2 separate regions of the Homo sapiens genome follow, and region 1 is linked to region 2. Evidence: promoter capture Hi-C in 16 types of primary human blood cells and fetal thymus (Javierre and others, 2016). All regions are on one chromosome and are shown on one strand. Each heading gives the region's core, a stretch centred on a gene start or on the middle of the fragment in contact. The rest is flanking DNA. Distances are from core to core; before and after follow the strand shown.

Region 1 (6,981 bases), core at 2,429-4,928, 510 kb after region 2:
TGCCAAATTTTAGTGAATGTGGAGAAACAAACTGTGATACACAGCTGATTGGAGTGTAAATTTATATGGCCATTTTGAGACTTACATGCCACTTTGGTAGCATATAAGAAAGCTGGATGTATGCAATGTCCTATGATCTAGTAGTTCCACATACAGGTAAATACTTAGGGAAATCCACACACGAGTATAATTATCACCAAAAAATATGTGCAAGATTGTTCATACAGCACAATATATAATATTGCAGACACAATGAGTAGAATTAATAAATGAATTTTCCTACATTCATATGATGAAATACGTTGTAGCAATACAATGACTGAAAAACTACCATATCCAAGAGCATAAATAAAACATGGGAAAATTATGTTGAGCTAAAGGAGCTAAACACAAAAGACTGCATATCATATGATTCTACTTACATAAATTTAAAATCAGACAAAAAAAGGCCATTGGAGGTAAGGATAGTAGTTACTTTTGTGGGAGAGGGATCAAGATAACTGAGAACTGTGAAGGGAAACAAAGGGGACTTGTAGGGAATTATGCATTATACTAACTTTTAATTTGAGTGGTCATTACATAGGTATGTTCACTGTGCAATTTCATAGAGCAATATACTTATAATTTCTATACTTTTACATATGTCATACTGTAATGACTAAATGTATGTGAAAAATTAGAAGGCAGAGGACAGTGTGGCAGAAAGTACAAGGAGCTTATCCTCCTGAAATTTCATCTTCCAAAGCAAGGAATTTCCTGTTTTTTTGCATAAATTCTTAAAGGTCATTAAAAATAATTGTGGTTCCAAACTGGTGTTGTTTTTGAAATTCTTTTAGCTTAACCCTGAAGGAAACTTTCAGGAATGAATATCTTTTCAGTTAGAGAAATTATTAACTAAAGATTCACCTCTTTCTTGTTCTCCTTCCCTTTATTTTATCGTAGTCTAGTAAAATAAAATCTAGTACTTTAAAAACTTGAATAGCACATATAGTATAAGCTCATCATTGTAAAATTTATTTCTGTAAAATTATCTCTCTTTCTGGCTATCTACTAGTCTATCCATTTATTTCATAGTGAATAAAAAGATATTTGTAATGATTTTGACCCAGTGTCCGAACTAGCTAATTCTGGAGGTTGCAATTTGATTTAATTTAATTTATCTGCCTTCATATTTTCTTGCAGTACTTGATGTTTTTTGCTACAAGCTCTTAAAACAATTCCAGTGCTTGATTTTTAAAACAATAAAAATGTTCTAATAAATTTATGAAGTCATTGTTCTGTTTTTAAATTTATGTATAACTCACCCTGTTATATATTGTAAGTGTAACAATATATTGTCAATCAAAGCATGTAGCTTATTAACACTATGATTAAAAACCTTAAAATCTTGGGCATGTATATGCAAGATTTTGTTCCTTTTTAATTTTCTATTGAAAATTTCCTTTTGTGAATTTACCTTTGGTTTTGTCAACTGACCCACATTTTAAGTTTTCAGATTTGATATATTTGAGATTTTAATAGCAAAATCAATTTTTTACACACATCCTACTTTCTCTATGTTCAGACCAGTTTCTATCTATAGTTCCAGGTCACTGGAGGTAGGGGCAGGTTTCTCTTTTCAGTATTCCTAATCTTACAGAAAACAGCTTTTCTCCCAAGCCCTTTTGTCACTCCTCCCTTGGACAAGGGAAGACTGATGTGATGGGTCAGATTCAGGAGCACTATCAGCAGTACCACCTTCCAATGTGACACCCATGCGTGTAGGACATGGCCATGCTCTTCCCTCTCACAATACCAAAGTGATAAGCTGAGCCAGTGCCTACTATGAAGGCTGGGCTCTGCCACATTACTCCCTATTCCTTTCTTCTTACTGGAGATTTGGGACTCTGTTTTCCACACACTAGGGGTCAACTGGTTATAAGATGCAGAGTTAGAGAGTTGGAGAGACCCTGCTTCCTTCTTGAGTCTGGGCCTGTGCTTCAACCCAGCTTGGCCTGAGATCTCTGCATTGAGGGTCATGGGAATTGGCCCCGTGAATTATATTCAGGGTCCTTGTGTGCGTGTCTCCTTCAGAGAAAACCCTGGGAAGAGACAGAGCAGCAGTGTAGGGTAAAAGTGGGGCATTTTTGTGTCCTCTGGACAAATACTAGCCCCACACTGTCAGATTCTCACCAGTATATACATTTGGATGTCTCTCACTCCATTATAGATGGTATAGATGGTGACCCGAATGTCACAACTCACATTGAAGCATCACATGAAACCATTCCCTAATCATGCTACCATCTAGAGGTCAGTACTTGGTGTTTTCAGGCATGGTTGGTGGATTCCATGCATGAAGGGATAAGGTAAATATCTGTTGATGTGAAGATGGTCAAGGCCTCCTGAATTCCAGTGGTTCCCCCACCCTTGTCTCTTTCCTCAGGGGCTCATGCATCAACCTCAGATAACAGGAAGCCAGTATTCTGGTTTTTAAATTGATCTCACAAAAACAGGTTGTCTTCATTTGGGCCTCATTTAAGCCCTCAGAACTTTGAACTTGACATTTATATGATCCAAATTGCAAATACATCCCATGGCTGACTCACTCACTGGCTTCTGTTGGAATTGGCCACTTACGGTCCTCTTCAGTAATTACTTCCCCATATCTAAATAATCATCATCTTTCCTTGCATACAATGTTATTTTATGTACTTCATTCACATTTTACAATTGCCTTCACATAGAAAACATATATCACTCACTTTTAAGACATGCCTTCCAGCTATCACTAAGTCTTGTATTTCAAATTTTCTCCTTACTTAGAGGTAGCCCAGATGTCCTGCATTATCACTACCACTTACCAATATAGATAGATGATTAATTGATAGATAGATAGAGATAGGTATGTAAGTAGGTAGATAGATAGATTAGATAAATAGATAATTTTTTCCTTGTCACAAAATCTCATGCAGGTCAATGTCAACTGTGAATAGAGTCAAAATAGGATGAGATAAGCTTCTCTTTGGTGATCAGTTTCCAAATATGCTTCCACATGAACAGGTGGTGTCTTCTCTACAGTCTCTATAATCCATCCTAAGCTGCCTGTTCTATAACAGTTTGTTCACTACTGGAAAATCAGTTCTCTGTTCCCATAGGCTCTGTTCATGCCCACATTCATCTGCCATCCCAAAATAAAATCACTACTGAGATCACACTCATATCACATGGTGCCATCACTCAAATTGAACCCTAGAGAAATGGTAATGCACTAAGTATTCCCTAAAACATGCTCAGAAAATGAGAATGAAAGACCTCACGACAAACTTAAGATAGATGTGGTAAAATGGTTTCTGGATGGGATGCATTTTTCTATTTAAGTTCATCTGAGCACTACAAGAAAGACTTGGCTAAAAGACTCAGTATCGGACTGTGTTAACAATACTGACTCACGGTGAATTATAACACAACATATAACTTGAGAAACATTCACAACATATTGCAGCTTATTTTATTAACACACACCTTGGTGTTTAATGGTTATAGTTGATAATATTTACCTGTGCCAGGGGACTAATACATTCATGGCTCCTAAATGTAAGGTTACCTATTTAGTAGATTTTTTATCCAACAAATTAAAAATATGAGCATGAGTAATTTTGCTAAAGAGAAAGGATCTGATAACATTCCAGTGTCCCAGATAAAGGCATGAATACTTCATCATGAAATATTCAAAAGATTCCCAAGATAAACATTTTAACAATGACAAATGAAGCAGGTTATGATATTCCCTACCTGAAAGAGGAGGTCTCCATAATTCTTGTCTGTTCCTTACAGAGTGATATTAGGGATTTTCTAAAAACATACTCCCATCAGAATTCTTTCAAACCTCACTTACATGATAAACTTAAAACTTATTGGTATGTGACTTTTTTTAACCAGCTTTATTTTTTAGAACAGTTTCAGGTACACAACGAAACTGAACAGGAAGAACTCTGTATACACACTCACAGCCTCCCTGACTATTAATATCCGCCCCCCCCCCAGAGTAGTACATTTGTTACAACCAATGAATCTACTTTGACACATTATCACCCAAAGTCCATAATTTACATTAGGTTTTACATATGGCGTTGTACATTCTATAGGTTTGGACAAATGTATAAAGACATGTGTCCACCATTATAGTATCATACAGAATAATTTCACTGCTCTAAAAATATGTGTTCTGCCTATTTATCATCCCTTCCTTCTAACTTCTGGCAACCACTGACCTTTTTATAGTCTCCTTCGTTTTGTCTTTTCCAGACTATCAAATATTTAAACTAATACAGTATGTAGTCTTTTCAGATTGACTTCTTTCACTTAGTTATATGCATTTTAAGCTTCCTTCATCATGTCTTTTCATGGCCTGATAGCTCATTTTTGGTACTGAATAGTATTTCATTGTCTGGATGTACCACAGTTTATCTATTCACGTACTGAAACACATCTTTGTTGATTCCAACTTTTGGCAATTATGAATAAAACTGCTATAAACATCCATGTGCAGGTTTTTGCGTGGGCATAAGTTTTCATCTTATTGAGTAAATACCAAGGAGTCTGACTGCTAGATCATACAGTAAGAATATGTTTAATTTTGTAAGAAACTGCCAAACTGCCTTACAAGGCTATACCAACAACAATGAATGAGAGTTCCCATTACTCCACATCCTTGTCAGCATTTGGTGTTAATGTTCTGGATTTTGGTGGTTCTAATAAGTATATAATGACGTCTCATTGTTGTTTTAAGTTTTATTTTCCTGATGACATACGATGTTGAGCAGTTTTTCATATGCTCATTTGCCATCTATGTATCTTCTTTGGTGAGGTGTCTGCCAAAGTCTTTCGCCCATTTTTTAATAGAGTTGTCTTTTTTCTGAATGTTTAGTTTTAAGAGTTATTCATTCTTAGCAAACTATCGCAAGGACAAAAAACCAAACACCGCATGTTCTTACTCATAGGTGGGAATTGAACAATGAGAACACATGGACACAGGAAGGGGAACATCACACACCCCGGGCCTGTTGTGGGGTGGGAGCAGGGGGGAGGGATAGCATTAGGAGATATACCTAATGTTAAATGACAAGTTAATGGGTGCAGCATACCAACATGGCACATGTATACATATGTAACTAACCTGCACGTTGTGCACATGTACCCTAAAACTTAAAGTATAATTTAAAAAAAAGAAAAAAAAAGAACTACAAAAAAAGAGTTATTCATATATTTTGGATAACGTTACTTTATCAGATGTGTCTTTTGCTAATACTTTCTTCCAGTCTGTGGCTTATCTTTTCATTCTACTAAAAGTGTCTTTCACAGAGCAGAAATTTTAAATTTTAATGAAGTCCAGCTTACCCATACTTTTTAAATAGAATGTACCTTTGGCATTATATCTAAAAAGTCATCACCAAACCCAAGGTTATCTAGATTTTCTTCGATGTTATTTTCTAGTAGTTTCATAATTTTGCATTTTACATTTAGGTTGGTGATTCACTTTGAGTTAATTTTTGTGGAGGGTGTAGGTTCTGTATATAGATTCATTTTTTACATGTGGATGTCCAGTTGTTTCAATATCGTTTGCTGAAAACACTACCTTACTCCATTGTATTGCCTTTGCTCCTTTGTCAAAGCTCAATTGAATATACTTGTATTGGAACTACTGCTGGGCTCTCTATTCTATTCCATCGACCTAAGTGTCTGTTCTCTTACCAATACCACACTGTCCTGATTACTGCAGCTTTATAGTAAGTCTTAAAGTTGGGCAGTCTTCCAACATTTTTTTTCTCAGCAGAAACTTCAGAATTAATTTGTAAATTTCCATGGAAATCCAGCAAAATCGCCCTGTTGGGATTTTGATTGGAATTGCACTGAATCTATAGATTAAGGTGAAAAGAATTGGCATCTTGACAATATTGTCTTCCTACCCATGAATATGGAATCTCTCTACATTTATTTAGTTCTTTGATTTCTTTCATCTGAGACTTGTACATTTCCTCATATAAATCTTTTACATATTTTGCTAGATCTATATGTAAGCATTTCATTTTTCTGGATACTAATGTAAATTATATTGTGCTCTTATTTTCAAATTCCACTTGTTCACTGCTGATATATATGACAGTGATTGATTTTTCTTGTATCTTGCAACTTGCTATAATTGCTTAGCTGTCCCAGAAGTTTTTCTGTCAGTTCTTTTAAATTTTTTACAGAGACAGTCACGTCATCTGTGAACAAAAAGTTTTTATTTTTCTCTCCTGTTATGCAAACCTTTTATTCCTTTTCCTTGTCATATTACATTAGCTAGGACTTCCAGTATGATGTTGAAAAGCAGTGATGAGGGGGAACTATTTGCCTTAATCCTGATCTAGTGGGAAAACTTGTAGTTTCTCACCACTCAGTATAATGTTAGCTGCAGGTTTTTGTGAATGTTCTTTACCAAGTTGAGTAAATTCCTCTCTATTCCTAGTTTACTGAGAGTTTTTTTTTTATCATAAATGGGTGTTGGACATTGTTAAATGCTTTTTCTTTGTCTATTGATATGATTATGTGGTTTTTCTTTTTTAGCCTGTTGATGTGATGAATTACATTAATTGATTTTTGAACGTTGAATCAGTCTCGCATACCTGGGATGAATCTCACTTGGTCATGATGTATAATGCTTTTGATACATTGTAGGATTTAATTTGAAAAATTTCAGAATTTTTGCATCTATGTTTATGAGACATATTGGTCTATAATTTTCTGTCATGTCTTTGTCTGGCTTTGGTATTAGGTTTATGATGGCCTCATAGAATGAATTATCAAGTATTCCCTGTGCTTTTATTTTCTAAAAGATACTCTAAATAATTGGTAAAATTTCTTCAATGTTTGGCAGAATTCACTGCTGAACTCAATTTGACCTAATGCTTTAGTTTTAGAAGGTTGTTATTGATTCAATTTCTAAAATAGATATGGGCC
Region 2 (6,664 bases), core at 1,367-3,866:
ACATTTGTGTAATAAAACTATACGGAAAATCGTATAGGTTATTACCATAAATGTCACAATAGCAGTTACATTGAGAGGTGGAGGAAGTCATTTGTGATTGAACAGGGCACAAGGAAGCCTTCTGGGCTGGCTGGCAAATTTCTCTTGACTTGGATGGTTGTTACAAGTGTGTTTCCTTTCTCATAAGTCAATAACCTATAATTTTTAATGTGACTTTCTGTGTTTGTGCTATATTTTACAATAAAAAAGATTTTTAAAGGAGGAAAAAGATTGAATTAAGCAATGGTTGGATATCACCTACACTCTTTTTTAAATTTTCCTCTTTGGTGAGGAAAATTCTCTCATTTACTGATGAACTCTTAGGCAGAAAGACTGGAGACAAGCATCCCATCACACAAACCAAAAGATTTTTGTCCAAGGCCAATCTCTCTGGACACAATCTGGTCAGTGCTTCTCTCTCTTGCGTTGAACTGCCTCCCCTGGAACCTCATGAATGATGGATTATGAGGACATTCACAGACTATTTCTGACTTCTCCTTTATCGTTCTAACAGTGAAGTATCCTCTGTTCTCTGAGATATCACTAAGTAGCAGTCATACCAATATGTTCATGACCAATGCATTCGACCCAGGTGAAGGAAAAATCCCAGATGTCTCCTGCTTCCTTGCATGAATTACCTTATGTGAACACGGCTGCCAAAACCTTGACAGGTTCTCCCAGAAATGTCCATTCTAGGTTCACACAATGTCCAAGAAGGCTCCAGCACTTGTGTGGAGGGTCTCTCTGCACATTCTACCTCTCAGTTCTTCCTGTTTATTGTGAATAGGTGTGCACATTCTCTTTATGTCACTGTAAATAATTAATCCATAACCGGAGGCAAAAAGAATGAAGGTGTGGAAACAGTACAGAGCTAGTATAATAGTGGCAGCCCCAGAGTGAAAACATCAAGGGTCCAAGTCTGTCTTTTTTCCTACCCCTAAAGTCTGGAGAACACAATTCTCAAGTTATAATCAGGTACTTGGTTTTATAATATTTTGCTTTGTTGTTGGATTTAAATATCCAACTATGAGGCCAGGCGTGGTGGCTCATGCCTGTAATCCCAGCACTTTGGGAGGCCGAGGCAGGTGGATCACCTGAGGTCAGGAGTTCAAGACCAGTCTGGCCAACATGGTGAAACCCTGTCTCTACTAAAAATATATATTAAGAAAAATTAGCTGAGCTTGGTGGCGGACGCCTGTAATCCCAGCTACTCAGGAAGCTGAGGCAGGAGAATTGCTTGAACCCAGGAGGCAGAAGTTGCAGTGAGCTGAGATCATGCCACTGCACTCCAGCCTGGGCAACAAAAGTGAAACTTTGTCTCAAAATAAAAAAATAAATCCATCTATGTGACACCATCTTGTACTAAGCAGATTGTTTGGACTGAATAGTCTTTCTAGGTATGTCACAAAACCTGAATTCATAAAAGCAAAAGGTGACAGATTTGAGTACATGAAGACTAAAAACAGATTCAGAGAATAAGTTTGTATTTTCTATGTCAGTTTGCACTAAATTAATTTACAAACAAGGTCGCTGAGGCTTTGACTCAACTGTTAACACTTTCTGAGAGTGAGATTCTTTTGATTAGGGTCTTAAGGTCTTTGTTCATCTCAGAAGTCTTAATTGGTTTAATTAGGCTGACACCTACAGCCCTGTCTCATTACCATAAACTGTAGAGGGGTTCAACATGACACTGATTGTTTCTTAGAGCAAAGCCAGTGCAGTGAGTAGGATTCCAGGCCCCCCGGAATGAAGCAGGAAAACCCGAGGCCTGTGGATGCAGGATGTACTAGGGAGGTGCTGGGGAGTAGTGCAGATAAACCCAGAATTCAGTTGGTTGGTAAAACAAGAGTGATCTGAGTCCTGTGCTTGTCTACGTGATCCACCATTGAATGGCAGGCCAGCCATTGTGCAGGCATCTGCATATGAAGTGACTGGAAGCTTCACTGGAACAAGGATCTCCTTGGAAATTCTCTCCCCTCAGACAGCCAGGGTGCTTAACATGAAAAGAAGTTGTAACCCTATCCTTAAACTATAGAAGCCATCAGCAGAAGTTACAGGCTTATGGGGGCCCACTGGAAAGGGAAAATCAAAAGGCCTGTGGATTTCAAATTAATGAGTGATCTTAAGTTGCATTTCCTAAGTTCGGCTACAGACTCATATATTTCATGAGTCCCTCCCTACCCATTCCTTGCCTCTCCCTTCAGTTGCTGGGTTTCTGAATTTCTGTATAGTTAACCCTTATCTTGCCTCCCATTTGTTCAATAGAAATGATCACTTTTACTTGAATCTTTTGGTAGAATTGTATACCATGTGTTCCTGTCTAGGTTTAATCATCAGATTGTGGTCAAATTGCTCTGCCAGACTGTGTGAACAAAAAAGTGAATGGAAATTTTCGTTTTAAAAAATAATACTTTTGGACTTAGCCCGTGGCTAAGAAGAAGTAAGGAAGCCAAGCGTACGGATAGCAGCGAGGGGTCAATCCACGCCCGGCGTTGGGTCGGGGGTGGAGGAGTCGGAAGTGGTTGGGGTTTGGGGGAGGAGATCCGCTCACACACAAGAGGAGAGTGTTGAGCCGCCATATCTGCTGCTGCCGCCGCAGTTGCGAATGCAGCATCGGCGCTTAGCTGCCTCCGCGGTGCAGCTAAGGTTCGTGTCGCTACCCCTTGGCCCTTCGCTCTTGCTGCCTTAACCCCGCCGGCGGAGCCCGCTCTTCTGGCCTGTTGAGCCCGCTCCCTCACTGCCACACAGCAAGTTCCGAGACCATGGATTCGGGCAGCAGCAGCAGCGACTCGGCGCCCGATTGCTGGGACCAGGTGGACATGGAATCCCCGGGGTCGGCCCCGAGCGGGGATGGAGTCTCCTCTGCGGTGGCCGAGGCCCAGCGCGAGCCCCTCAGCTCGGCTTTCAGCCGTAAGCTCAACGTCAACGCCAAGCCCTTCGTGCCTAACGTACACGCCGCGGAGTTCGTGCCGTCCTTCCTGCGGGGCCCGACTCAGCCGCCCACCCTCCCGGCCGGCTCCGGCAGCAACGATGAAACCTGCACCGGCGCGGGATACCCTCAAGGTAAAAGGATGGGACGGGGGGCACCTGTGGAACCTTCCCGAGAGGAACCGTTAGTGTCGCTTGAAGGTTCCAATTCAGCCGTTACCATGGAACTTTCAGAACCTGTTGTAGAAAATGGAGAGGTGGAAATGGCCCTAGAAGAATCATGGGAGCACAGTAAAGAAGTAAGTGAAGCCGAGCCTGGGGGTGGTTCCTCGGGAGATTCAGGGCCCCCAGAAGAAAGTGGCCAGGAAATGATGGAGGAAAAAGAGGAAATAAGAAAATCCAAATCTGTGATCGTACCCTCAGGTGCACCTAAGAAAGAACACGTAAATGTAGTATTCATTGGCCATGTAGACGCTGGCAAGTCAACCATCGGAGGACAGATAATGTTTTTGACTGGAATGGTTGACAAAAGAACACTGGAGAAATATGAAAGAGAAGCTAAGGAAAAAAACAGAGAAACCTGGTATTTGTCCTGGGCCTTAGATACAAATCAGGAGGAACGAGACAAGGGTAAAACAGTCGAAGTGGGTCGTGCCTATTTTGAAACAGAAAGGAAACATTTCACAATTTTAGATGCCCCTGGCCACAAGAGTTTTGTCCCAAATATGATTGGTGGTGCTTCTCAAGCTGATTTGGCTGTGCTGGTCATCTCTGCCAGGAAAGGAGAGTTTGAAACTGGATTTGAAAAAGGTGGACAGACAAGAGAACATGCGATGTTGGCAAAAACGGCAGGGGTAAAACATTTAATAGTGCTTATTAATAAGATGGATGATCCCACAGTAAATTGGAGCATCGAGAGATATGAAGAATGTAAAGAAAAACTGGTGCCCTTTTTGAAAAAAGTAGGCTTCAGTCCAAAAAAGGACATTCACTTTATGCCCTGCTCAGGACTGACCGGAGCAAATATTAAAGAGCAGTCAGATTTCTGCCCTTGGTACACTGGATTACCATTTATTCCGTATTTGGATAACTTGCCAAACTTCAACAGATCAATTGATGGACCAATAAGACTGCCAATTGTGGATAAGTACAAAGATATGGGCACTGTGGTCCTGGGAAAGCTGGAATCCGGGTCCATTTTTAAAGGCCAGCAGCTCGTGATGATGCCAAACAAGCACAATGTAGAAGTTCTTGGAATACTTTCTGATGATACTGAAACTGATTTTGTAGCCCCAGGTGAAAACCTCAAAATCAGACTGAAGGGAATTGAAGAAGAAGAGATTCTTCCAGGATTCATACTTTGTGATCCTAGTAACCTCTGCCATTCTGGACGCACGTTTGATGTTCAGATAGTGATTATTGAGCACAAATCCATCATCTGCCCAGGTTATAATGCGGTGCTGCACATTCATACTTGTATTGAGGAAGTTGAGATAACAGCGTTAATCTCCTTGGTAGACAAAAAATCAGGAGAAAAAAGTAAGACACGACCCCGCTTCGTGAAACAAGATCAAGTATGCATTGCTCGTTTAAGGACAGCAGGAACCATCTGCCTCGAGACGTTCAAAGATTTTCCTCAGATGGGTCGTTTTACTTTAAGAGATGAGGGTAAGACCATTGCAATTGGAAAAGTTCTGAAATTGGTCCCAGAGAAGGACTAAGCAATTTTCTTGATGCCTCTGCAAGATACTGTGAGGAGAATTGACAGCAAAAGTTCACCACCTACTCTTATTTACTGCCCATTGATTGACTTTTCTTCATATTTTGCAAAGAGAAATTTCACAGCAAAAATTCATGTTTTGTCAGCTTTCTCATGTTGAGATCTGTTATGTCACTGATGAATTTACCCTCAAGTTTCCTTCCTCTGTACCACTCTGCTTCCTTGGACAATATCAGTAATAGCTTTGTAAGTGATGTGGACGTAATTGCCTACAGTAATGAAAAATTAATGTACTTTAATTTTTCATTTTCTTTTAGGATATTTAGACCACCCTTGTTCCACGCAAACCAGAGTGTGTCAGTGTTTGTGTGTGTGTTAAAATGATAACTAACATGTGAATAAAATACTCCATTTGAAACTCTTCGGTTATTTGAAATGCTTTTGAATAATGTTTAAATGTCATTATGTAATGCTATTCAATTAGCTTTATTACTTTCTCAAATAGTTGAATATGTTCTATCACTTAAAAACTTAAAAACTCTTCACCACTTACTGTTTTAAGTGAGGAATTTACAAACAATGCATAAGTGTGTATTAAAGGAATAATTTTAATTTTGAGAAAAAAACGTATGTTAAGGCTCTTCCCAGTGGGCTTTGTTTTCTCTGTCCAAGTCCAGTCAATAAAGGAGCTCTTCTGCTTCCCCACTTGTGATTTGAAAATGAAAGGCTCAGGCCGTCTTTATTTGTATAGCAGTAGTTCATGTAACATTATCCATAGGTTCTTGAAGACTACAACATTAAGCAAAACAATGTACAGCAGGTGTACATCGTACAACAATGCACAATGTATGACATTGTTCAATGTTGTTATGACATTGTTCAATGTTGTTATGACATTGTTCAATGTTGTTATGACCTTGTTCAATGTTGTTTAGTTATGACATTGTTCAATGTTGTTTAGTTATGACATTGTTCAATGTTGTTTAGTTATGACATTGATAAGGGGAAAAATTCATTTTGTTAGATGTTATTTCACTTGAAGTCACAATTTCCAAGAACCAGTGGACTATGTTAAGTGAGGACTTACTGTATTCCATCAGGTCCCATCACGTTAAGCATGGCCAAATTATAGGAGATTTGGACCATAGGTTTACAAGACTCTTTATTTTTTTAAAAGACAGGGTCTCACTCTGTCACCCAGGCTGGAGTGCAGTGGTGCAGTCATGGCTCACTGCAGCCTCAACCTCCCAGGCTCAAGCAATCCTCCCATCTCAGCCCCCCAAAGTGGTGGGATTACAGGCGTGAGCCACTGTGCCCAGCCTTGGCTAGACTCTTAACTGTACTCCATCATCTTAACAAACACAGCTCTTGGTTTTGTTCACCATGAAACTTGTGATATGGGTCACAACCCAATAAGGGGTATGGCTATTGAGAAGATAAATGCTTGCAATGGGGCCTTTGGTCATTGAGTAAAAACTAAGGATTAGTGACTCCTGGGCTGGGAAATGAGATGATGTCACCTTTGTCTCTTTCATGCTTGGGTTGATAGGAAAGGTGGGAAGTCATTTTTAAATTCAGATCATGACCTACACTTGGGGTCAGAGGCACTGGATACTTCTCTGAACAACTTCTTGAGGAAAACACCAATTATGGATTCTGAGGTGGCTACATTTATTGGCAAGAGAGTGGCCTTATAACCTGCAAATAACTGTCAACAACTAAAGAACCTTCTGTCTTATTAAGTGGGTAGTGCCTTAGGCACAGCAGTATACCTGGAGAGAGAGACAGTTTGCTTTGCTGTCAAACCTCATACTCATGAGCTAGTTGAATAGGTGTGGGGACTGCTGGCACAACACCCTGGGCTCATTCATGCTCAGGTAAAGGCAATGTATCCTTCTACATTGTCCCTTTGTGTGTACATGTACCTCCAGGGTGTCTAACCTGTCAGAGATAGCCACACTGGTCTTGTTGGAGCAT

What was found. Contacts are between HindIII fragments. The CHiCAGO score rates a contact against its expected background, and 5 or more counts as called.
Region 1: a contact is called between a fragment that was not itself captured here and the fragment with the promoter of GSPT2 in region 2, in 4 of 17 cell types (non-activated CD4 T cells, naive CD8 T cells, total B cells and 1 more). The highest score is 9.7, in non-activated CD4 T cells.

Annotation. Positions count from the first base shown.
Region 1 is chrX:52,248,816-52,255,796 of GRCh38, forward strand. The region is part of intron 1 of LOC105377209 (a long non-coding RNA gene); the gene reads right to left. Among named protein-coding and RNA genes, the nearest start is that of SNORA11D, 62 kb to the left of the region's middle. The HindIII fragment of the contact is 1,367 bases long and covers 2,996-4,362 here.
Region 2 is chrX:51,740,826-51,747,489 of GRCh38, forward strand. It overlaps GSPT2 (G1 to S phase transition 2), which reads left to right and starts at 2,617. Exons shown (of 1, transcript NM_018094.5): 1 at 2,617-5,407. The coding sequence starts at 2,802. The coding sequence ends at 4,688. The HindIII fragment of the contact is 6,668 bases long and covers 1,976-6,664 here.